Regions from separate parts of the Homo sapiens genome. Here region 2 is linked to region 1. Evidence: promoter capture Hi-C in 16 types of primary human blood cells and fetal thymus (Javierre and others, 2016). All regions are on one chromosome and are shown on one strand. The core of a region is centred on a gene start or on the middle of the fragment in contact, and the rest is flanking DNA. Distances in the headings are between cores, read along the strand shown.

What was found. Contacts are between HindIII fragments. The CHiCAGO score rates a contact against its expected background, and 5 or more counts as called.
Region 2: a fragment that was not itself captured here is called in contact with the fragment with the promoter of CYSTM1 in region 1 in 1 of 17 cell types (neutrophils); the score reaches 5.2 in neutrophils.

Annotation. Positions count from the first base shown.
Region 1 is chr5:140,173,238-140,177,951 of GRCh38, reverse strand. CYSTM1 (cysteine rich transmembrane module containing 1) reads right to left here and starts at 2,764. Exons shown (of 3, transcript NM_032412.4): 1 at 2,667-2,764. RefSeq lists a silencer at 2,377-2,666 and an enhancer at 2,957-3,186. The HindIII fragment of the contact is 7,638 bases long and covers 1-4,714 here.
Region 2 is chr5:141,622,744-141,627,457 of GRCh38, reverse strand. It overlaps HDAC3 (histone deacetylase 3), which reads left to right. Exons shown (of 15, transcript NM_003883.4): 11 at 1,175-1,264; 12 at 1,387-1,445; 13 at 1,694-1,773; 14 at 2,093-2,250. Among named protein-coding and RNA genes, the nearest start is that of DIAPH1, 6.1 kb to the right of the region's middle. The HindIII fragment of the contact is 7,461 bases long and covers 1-4,714 here.

The sequences.
Region 1 (4,714 bases), core at 1,515-4,014:
TTAACTGCCCTGACAGCACATAGTTATTTTGTTTGGGAAAGGAGGGGGTGGACTGTTTCTTTCCAAAGGAACCATAATTAGTTGGCCACTTCAAATAGTATCAAAGAGATTTGGAAAACAGTTACTTTTCTAAATTTTTTAATGAGGCCAAGACATCTGATTTCCAGCGATTCTTAATATTAACAAGCTCCTGCAAAGCCCCTTAAAAATCACTATCATAATCTCTACCACTCAACAGGAACACACGGGGAAAAAACTACTCTGGCCTTTTACACACTTCGGGGCTTCTTTTACAGAGAATGACTTCACTGATCTGACTGGAAGTCCCGTTTCCCCAGGTCTCACCCTGGATTTGCACTCCTTTGAGTGCTGCACCGGTTTCTATATTTACGCACAAACCAGCTGCGGCCACCTTCCTTCGCAATTCCCAAACCTGCCTTTCACTGTACAGGATCCCTGGAGGTCCAATTCTGTTTTCTGGAGTCAAAGAAATACAAAATAATTTCACTACCTCCCAGAAAACAGACTTTGGTAAGTTTCAATATAAAATAGACAGCTCTTGAACCCAGGAGGCAAAGGTTGCAATGAGCCAAGATCTCGACACTGCACTCCAGCCTGGGCGACAGAGCAAGACTCCGCCTCAAAAATAAACAAATAAATAAAATAAAATAGACAGCTGTGTATTTTTGGTCCTAGCACCAATAAATTTCAGGGCTGGGAAAAATCATAAATTACCAAAGCATTCCTCTTCATATAACCAAAATATATTTTTCCTGTTGCTCAGGAAATTAAGACAAAATAGCCAACTAACACTTACGCAGCCTTACACGGAGAAACTCAAAGCTGGCAGGAAAGGACTAGAGATTTTTTTTTTTTTTTTTTTGAGACAGAGTCTCGCTCTGTCGCCCAGGCTGGAGTGCAGTGGCGCAGCCTCGGCTCACTGCAAGCTCCACCTCCCGGGTTCACGCCATTCTCCTGCCTCAGCCTCCCGTGTAGCTGGGATTACAGGCGCCCGCCACCACGCCCGGCTTATTTTTTATATTTTTAGTAGAGACGGGGTTTCACCGTGTTAGTCAGGATGGTCTCGATCTCCTGACCTCGTGATCCGTCCGCCTCGGCCTCCCAAAGTGCTGGGATTACAGGTGTGAGCCACCGCACCAGGCCAGGTCTAGAGATCTTTGATCTACAATCAACAAATAGTATGGGACTCCTTTCAGCGAATCCAATGCCCCACATGAATGTTTGGATGCTGGTTCTCCTTTAATAACTTCCCCCTATTAAATCTCTTACCAGTCATTTGGGGTTTGGGTTTCACCCTAGGGATACAAGGTGTTTGTAAGTCACTCTGAAACCTCTGAAGGGCAAAGTGTTGTGGACGCTATAATCTCCCTGCATACTGAGGGGGGCATAGCTCCCAACCAGTCATTAAATCCCGTCAAATGAGATACTCGAAAATGAGCTGCCCTTGGGTGGGTCCTTTCATAAAAAGGAATTTTTAAAAATCTGCTAACATGGTTACTCCACAAAGTTTACATGTATCATATTGTATAAATCTATAAATATGTACAATTATTTTTTGTTTAATTTCTAAAAATTTGCCAACAATGGCTGAAAAAGGCACCTGGCTGCCTGAGCCCCTACCCTTGTCGGTTACAAGTATTTCATAAGCAGGGTTTGAGGAATCCCATCAGAGAAGAGTGTTGTCACCTTTTTGCCGGAATGTCACACCAACTTCCTCAGTGTTCCCCTCACACCAACTTCCTCAGTGTTCCCCCTACCCCAATCTAGCCAACGTTTCAATGGCTCCCCACAGCACACAGTGCCTCTCAGGTGGGCACTCAAGGGTCCTTTCCTAATCCTCCCTAACCTAATTCTCCAAACTTTTTTTCCCCCAAAACAGCCCAGCAGACGGTCCAGTCAGTCCCCAAATCGTTTTTCCTCATGGTCTCCTTCCCCAGGGGTCCTCCCCTCCTTCTCTCCCCCCTGCAACCTCCACTGCTACCGGGAGATTAGTTCCCACCCGTCAGGACCCCGCTCAGATTTCACTTCCTCCAACAGGTCCGCTCAGATCCCAATCCACGGCTCTCAACAGCAGCCGGGATTCCTTTCCCCCGCAACGCCTTCTCTGAACACCCCGGCCTCCGAGCGCCGGCTTTGCGTTCCCTAGTTACTTCCAGTCACTAGTTACTTCCGCTCCGCTCCCACCCGCGGGACTCGCGACCTGCCCCCTGCCCCCGGCTGGCCCAGCTCGGAATAGGCAGAGCAGCGCCTCAGAAATCGCAGCCCAAGGCGAAGAAATCCAGAAGCCTCCCGCGGACGTCCCCCGGGACGGGGTGTGGCGAGCCCCGCTCCGAGCCCGCCGACTCCTCGTGAGACGAGAACCGCAGCGACGCGGAGACCCTGTGAGTCCACCGCCGAGACGCGCGGCGCGGCGACCAGGAGCCCCAGAGTAGCCGCGGGGCGCCGGGAGGGATCCAGCTGGCGGCAGCAGCTTCCCTGCCTCCCTGCCCCTCCCCAGGGGCTGCGCGAACCCCTGCCTGAGCCAGGCCAGCCCGGGTGCCCCCCAGTTCTCAGGGCGCTCCCCAGGGAGCCCGGGGACGCGCCCTGTCCGTGCCTGATCCCCGCCCTGGTCCCAGCTGGGTCGGGCCAGGTCCGCTGCACCTCACCTCTCCTCTCCACGAACCGACTGGATAACGGTCGGGTCTGAACCTGAGGAGCCCGGACCAGCCCGCAGTAGACTTGCCGCACCTGTCTCAGAGCAAGTGAGGAGCAGCCGGGCGCCTGACGTCACGGCCGCTCCCAGCGCCGCGAACCGGGAGTCACCTGATCACCCTGGCAACGCGCGCGGCGCGGGGCGAGGCGAGGCTTGCGTCACAGCACGAGCCCCGCCCCCAACTGCTCGGCCTCCAAGCGCCGCCGGAAGCGCTCTCTTGCAGTCGGCGCAGTCGGGAGGCGGGGTCGGTCTCCGACTTCCCAACGTGGGCCTCCCAGCTGCGCTGGATACTTAGGACTCCCACAGGCGTCCCCCTCAGATTGGATTGGTTCTCCGAGACTCCACCCGATACCCCAACTCCGCTAGTTCAGGCGCCTGGGAGGCAAGACCAGCGTCCATGCGGAACCCTGCTCAGTGCGTGGCATGAGGGGTCGGCTGTGGGCTGCTGCCTCCTCGTGTCTTGTTGGTCCAGACCCAACTAGGGTTGGGGGCTTACTTCCCGAGCTGTACCTGAGCGGAATGGGGCTGAGGCTGATAACTGGATTGCTCTCTGGCTACTTTTCCCCATAAACCTTGCAACAAGTAGTCCCGCCAGTACTTTAGAGTGTAATGAGACTTCATTCACATCAGGAGGGGGAAGGGGGACAGAATCTTCTGTCCTGAAGGTTTCCTTCTTCTGTTCCAACAGGAAGAGAAGTTACCGAAAAGCTCCCAGAGCAAGGCCTAGAATGAGCTTGCAAGTCCTACTTGCAAAAAATTTTTTATTTTTCATTTTAGAAATTGATTTTCTCTCCATATTCCTCCCCTTGCTTGCTATTAGGTTGGTGCAAAAGTAATTGTGGTTTTTGCATTTTTTTTTTAAATGGCAAAAACAGCAATTACTTTTGCACCACTCTAATATAAGTATATGCCTACAACTTTTGTTACTCTCTAGGCTTCCCAGATAAGACTATCAGCTTCGAAATGAAAATTTAACATCCCCTGGAGGTCTCAGTGTGAGAGTCACTGCCTATTTCACACCTTCACTATTTGCTGACTTTCATTTCAGTTTTACTCTCCTCATCCCTGCACTGCCAAGAAGGTTTCATATGTATTGAAACCTTCCCTCTCAAGAGTTTAGGATCTTAGACCAAGAAGTTAGTTTATAGTCAACTTCTTGTGAGCATCTTTTAGTGTCAGGCAATGGGCCATGGGCAGATTGAGATGTGGTTCTCGAAGATCAAACGTGTATGGGTGGTATGTCTCACATAAGTACAACTTGTACTGTTTATTATGACTTAATCATTGTATTTAAGTGGCACTTTTTAATTTTCACACTTAAAGAAACTCATATAAGTGGGAAAGAAGACAGCTGTGAAAGGTAGAGAAGAACCATGGCTCTAGACAGAGCTGTACTAATAGGAGAGAAGAGATTGAAAATGTGAGCCCAGGTCCCAAGGAGCACAGAGGCATGGTCAGAAGGTTGGTAGGAACAGGACAGAGGCAGCCAGGCCTGAGGTGTTTGGCAGATCTGAGGAGGGCAGGGATAGAGGGTGAGGGGAGGAGTGGGGCCAGAATGAGGCTTGAGGGATTCAATGGAGGGCGAAAGTGCTGGGAAGGGAGGAGGGATTGGAAAGAAAGGAGAAGTATGCAGTGGTTTGGGAAGGAGTTGCTGAAAGGGAGGGCAGGGTAAATAGAGACCCAGGAAAGGGTGCTAAGAGCATTAAGAGAAGGGAGGCTGAGAGGCTACAAAAAAGGACTGAGGGGGAGGAAGAAGCAGGTGGGAGACTCTGGGGCAGCAAACATCTCAGAACCAGTCAGTAGGTGGTGTCCTTCAGAGGCTGTTGGAGAAGAGCAGCATTGTCTGTTTGCCTCTGAAGAGTGAAGGTGATCCATGCACACCCCAAACTACCTCTGGACCATCTGAGGGTAAGAGCCACCCTTTGCAGAGCACTAATGCAGAGGGAAGAGCAGAAACAGGCACGTCCATAACTACACCCTGATAGTACTCAAGGCAGTCAG
Region 2 (4,714 bases), core at 697-3,196, 1.5 Mb before region 1:
GACTAAGAAGGAGTGAGTCATAAGAGGAGCAGAGAGAAGCCTGACCCAAGCATGGACAAAGGCCCACAAAAGGCTCTGAGGGCTGGGCCCAGTGGCACACACCTATAATCCCAACACTTCCAGAGGCCAAGGTGGGAGAATCGCCTGAGGCTAGGAGTTTGAGGCCAGCCTGGGCAACATAGTGAGAGCCATCTCTACAGAAAATAAAAAACAAAATCAGCTGGGCATGATGGTGCATGCCTATAGTCCTAGCTACTCAGGAAGCTGAGGCAGGAGGATCACTTGAGCCTAGGAGTTTGAGGTTACAGTGAACTATGATTGTGCCACTGGACTTCAGTCTGTTGAGGTGAGGTCCGAGAAGCTGGCCATGGTGAGATTGTGCAGAGCCTTTAAACCCTGGTAAGGAGTTTGAATTATATTCCAAAGATGATGGGAAACCATTGAAGGATTTTAAGCAGGAAAGTGACATGATCCAATTTGTGTTTGAAAGTGACAATTCTGACTGCTGAATAGAGAAAGGTTTGGGTAGGGGGGATGGAGATGGAAGTAGAAAGACCAGTTAGGAAGCCATGGTGTTGGTTAGGTGCCCAGACTAAGGTGGAGGGGGTGGCAATGGAGAGAAGTAGATGATCTGAGAGGTGTGTGTGTGTGTGTGTGTATATATATATATATACACACACACACACACATATATATGTTTTTTTTTTTCTTTTTTGAGATGGAGTCTTGCTCTGTCACCCAGGCTGGAGTGCAGTGGCACGATCTTGGCTCAGTGCAAGCTCTGCCTCCTGGGTTCAAGCATTTCTCCTGCCTCAGCCTCCTGAGTAGCTGGGACTACTACAAAGGCGTGAGCACCGCGCCGGGCGTGAGTTATATTTTCAAGGCTAGAATTGACAGAACTTGGGTTGATGAGAATAGTTGATTAGCAGGCAGGGTGCCAGGGAGGGTGTTGAGCAGAACAGAGGGGGGACTGTGCTTTATTTTAAAATTTTTATTGAGACACAGCATATAAAGTATACCCAAATCTTAAGGGTATAACATAATGAATTTCACTATCAAGATAAAGATTTAGAACATTTATAGTTTTCTTGTGCTCCTTTCAGGCAATACCTAAAGGTATTTACCTTGTCTTTTGATAACCTCCTCCACATCTTCCTCTGGTTCCTTTTAACAGGGAATGCGTTGAATATGTCAAGAGCTTCAATATCCCTCTACTCGTGCTGGGTGGTGGTGGTTATACTGTCCGAAATGTTGCCCGCTGCTGGTGAGCACTCTCCTGATTTCCTCCCCTGTTGTCCAGTGTGAGCTAGGGTGTCCCTCAGATATGGCCACATGGGTCCTTCAGCCCACTTGGTCAGCCTGCTCCCCTCTGCTGGTTGGTTTCAGGACATATGAGACATCGCTGCTGGTAGAAGAGGCCATTAGTGAGGAGCTTCCCTATAGTGGTAAGGACCACCCCACAACACCCCCATAACAGGAAGGCCATTCTCACCAGATTCCAGAATGACCTGGTTTGAAGGCACATGGGAAATTTTACACTCTCAGAGCTCTGCAGACTAAACCCCTGGGCTCAGAGCAGGGAAGAGATTGGGCAGCTATTATGTAGGTGCTCTGGATGGGAAGGAAAAAGATTGGGAAGTCTTGTTAGCTGCCTTTCTCAGTCTGAGCCATACTTTCTCCTCTCCTCCCCAAGAATACTTCGAGTACTTTGCCCCAGACTTCACACTTCATCCAGATGTCAGCACCCGCATCGAGAATCAGAACTCACGCCAGGTCAGCAGCTCAGAAAAGCTGAGCACAAACTTCTCCTGAAAGGTGGAGCCCAGGAGAGGTCAAAGATGTGGGAAGTAGGAAAAACCAAAGAGAAGGAAGTTCTAAGCCATCACAGTCACTGTTATTGACTAGGAGGCAGTCCAGTTTAAAGTAGAGGCAGTTGGGGTTGGTGGGGAGGGAGAGCTATCAGTTGGGGGACCTGAACTAGAGGTACCACTGAGATGAAAACCAGTATGGTAGGGGTAAAAGGCAGCTAGGAGATTCCATGTCCTGGGAATCTCTGGAAACTGCTCACTCTGTATTCCTCATTTCCAACCAGTATCTGGACCAGATCCGCCAGACAATCTTTGAAAACCTGAAGATGCTGAACCATGCACCTAGTGTCCAGATTCATGACGTGCCTGCAGACCTCCTGACCTATGACAGGACTGATGAGGCTGATGCAGAGGAGAGGGGTCCTGAGGAGAACTATAGCAGGTCTGGGAGCAGGGACTTCAGCCTACTTTCAATAGGCTTGCTGGGGAGGTTTAAAAGGGAAAAAGTAAATGGGAAGGTATTAGTTTAATTGCCTCTGGCTTACCTCCTTTAGTCTGCTACAATTTCCTCACTCTTTTCTTTGTTATTTTTAATGACAAAAGTAACACGTATTTATTGCAAAATTTTAAAACAGCACCAAAATATGGTGTTGGCGTTCACACAATCCCAGACCTATTCCACAGGAGTAACCACTGTTAATAGTTTTTATTGTTTTGGATAGACCTTTTTCTATAGATTGCAAATATACTATTCTGTATGTACATATAAACAAACACATATACACTCATTTACAGTTTGTGTGGTTTTTGGTTTTTCGTAAATACAAATAGGGTCATTCTACGTATGCTGCTTTACATCATATAGCTGTTTTCAGCTAGCTAATATAGATCTGCTTCAGTATTTTATCAGCTGTATAATAATTTACTATGTGGATAGATTATTTTCCATTTTTTTGGTATTACAATAATAATGTGGCAATGAACCCCCTTACATTATACATCTTTGCATTCTTGTTTGAGTGGGTTAGATAGTAGAATGGTTGCTGCTAGGTCAAAGGCTGTGTGCATTAATTTTTTTTTTTTTTTTTTTTTTGAGACAGGGTCTCATTCTGTCACCCAGGCTGGAGTACAGTGGCATGATTATAGCTCACTGCAATCTTGAACTCCTGGGTTCAAGCGATCCTCCTGCCTCAGCCCCTCGAGTAGCTGGAATCATAGGTGTGCACCACGACACCTGGCTAATTTTTTTTTTTTTTTTTTTTTTTTTTTTTTTTTTTGGTAGAGACGGAGTCTTGCCTTGTTGCCCAGGCTGGTCTCAAACTCCTGGGCTCAAATGTCCTCCTGCCCCAGCCTTCCAAAGTGCTGGGATTATAGGCGTGAGCCACTGAGCCTGGCCTAAAATTTTTTATATTTGCTGCCAAATTGCCGTCCAGAAAGTCTGTAGCACCCTATAGTCTTGCCAGCATTTTTCTCAGTCTTTCCAGGTCTTGAGCTGGACAGGTCACTGCCTGCGTAATACTCTCTAAGGCTCTTTGATTTCTTTGCTCTGTTAATTTTTTCGGGTGGGATAATTGCATTGTGGTTATGTTTTTTTTTTTTTTTTAAAAGTCTTTATCTTTCTGAGATACATACAAAATATTTGTAGATGGAATGAATTAGGGGGGAAAAAGGATAGGATGGAATTTTTTTTTAATCCCAAAACTTTGCTGAAAAATGAAAGGGAAAGACAACAGAACCAAGAAGTGCAGAAACAGATGCACTTAATGGGGAACAGATTTCCTTACATGACTGAGGGATAACCACAGCTGGACACTTGTGGGACACGCTGTCTTGCTCCCACGCAGGGTTAGAGGTTTGAGCCGGCTCTGCTGCAGAGCCTGATGGGCTTCTCAGCCCCTTCTAGAATCTGCTTCTGTCTTAGAATTCAGGCCTCCGAATCTCTCCTCTGGACCTGGGCTTTACTGCTCTGACTCTTGGGGATCTCTGCAACTCTCTTCCTCCAAGGATATCCCCCGATCCCTTCTGAGTGAGGAAGTGTCTGAACATCTGGAAGTGTCTGGCTTCAGGGCTTCCAGGACTATTGGAAATTGCTTTTCATTGTCTGGTTTGGTTTGGTAAAACCTGTTTTTAAGTTCTTCCTTTTGGGTTTTTTATCAATAGCTCCAGGCTGGCATCTGGACCTAGTCTCTGCATTATAATAATACCAAGCCCTGTCACAGCCAGCAGAAGCCTCAGGCCTCTTCCTGTTCCTAAGCCCTACCTCTCTGTCAGGCCACCCACTGAGTTTCTGTTCTTCTTTGATGCCTATAGCTCCAGCTTGCATATGACTTGCAGAGTAGAAATAGGAAGAGTTACCACTTTTTGTAGGTTTGCCAAGCACCAGACACTACTAAGTGCTATCTATTACAACATATATATGATCATTCTGTTGCCATCAGACAACTCTGATGGCTCTTATTTTCAGATTAACACGGGAGGAATCTAAGGCTCAGAGAGTCTAAGTAACTTTCTTTCTTTCTTTTTTTTGAGACGGAGTTTCGCTCTTTTTGCCCAGGCTGGAGTGCAATGGCATGATCTCAGCTCACCACAACCTCTGCCTCCCGGGTTCAAGCGATTCTCCTGCCTTAGCCTCCCAAGTAGCTGGATTACAGGCATGAGCCTCCACGCCTGGCTAATTTTTTTTGTATTTTTAGAAGAGATGGGGTTTCTCCATGTTAGTCAGGCTGGTCTCGAACTCCTGACCTCAGGTGATCTGCCTGCCTCGGCCTCCCAAAGTGCTAGGATTACAGGCTACAGGTGTGAGCCACCGCCCCCGGCGAGACTTAAGTAACTTTCTGAAGGTCACATGGCTAGTTAAAGATCAGGGCTGAGATTCAACCTGATTCTCTGACTCCACACCTTTAACC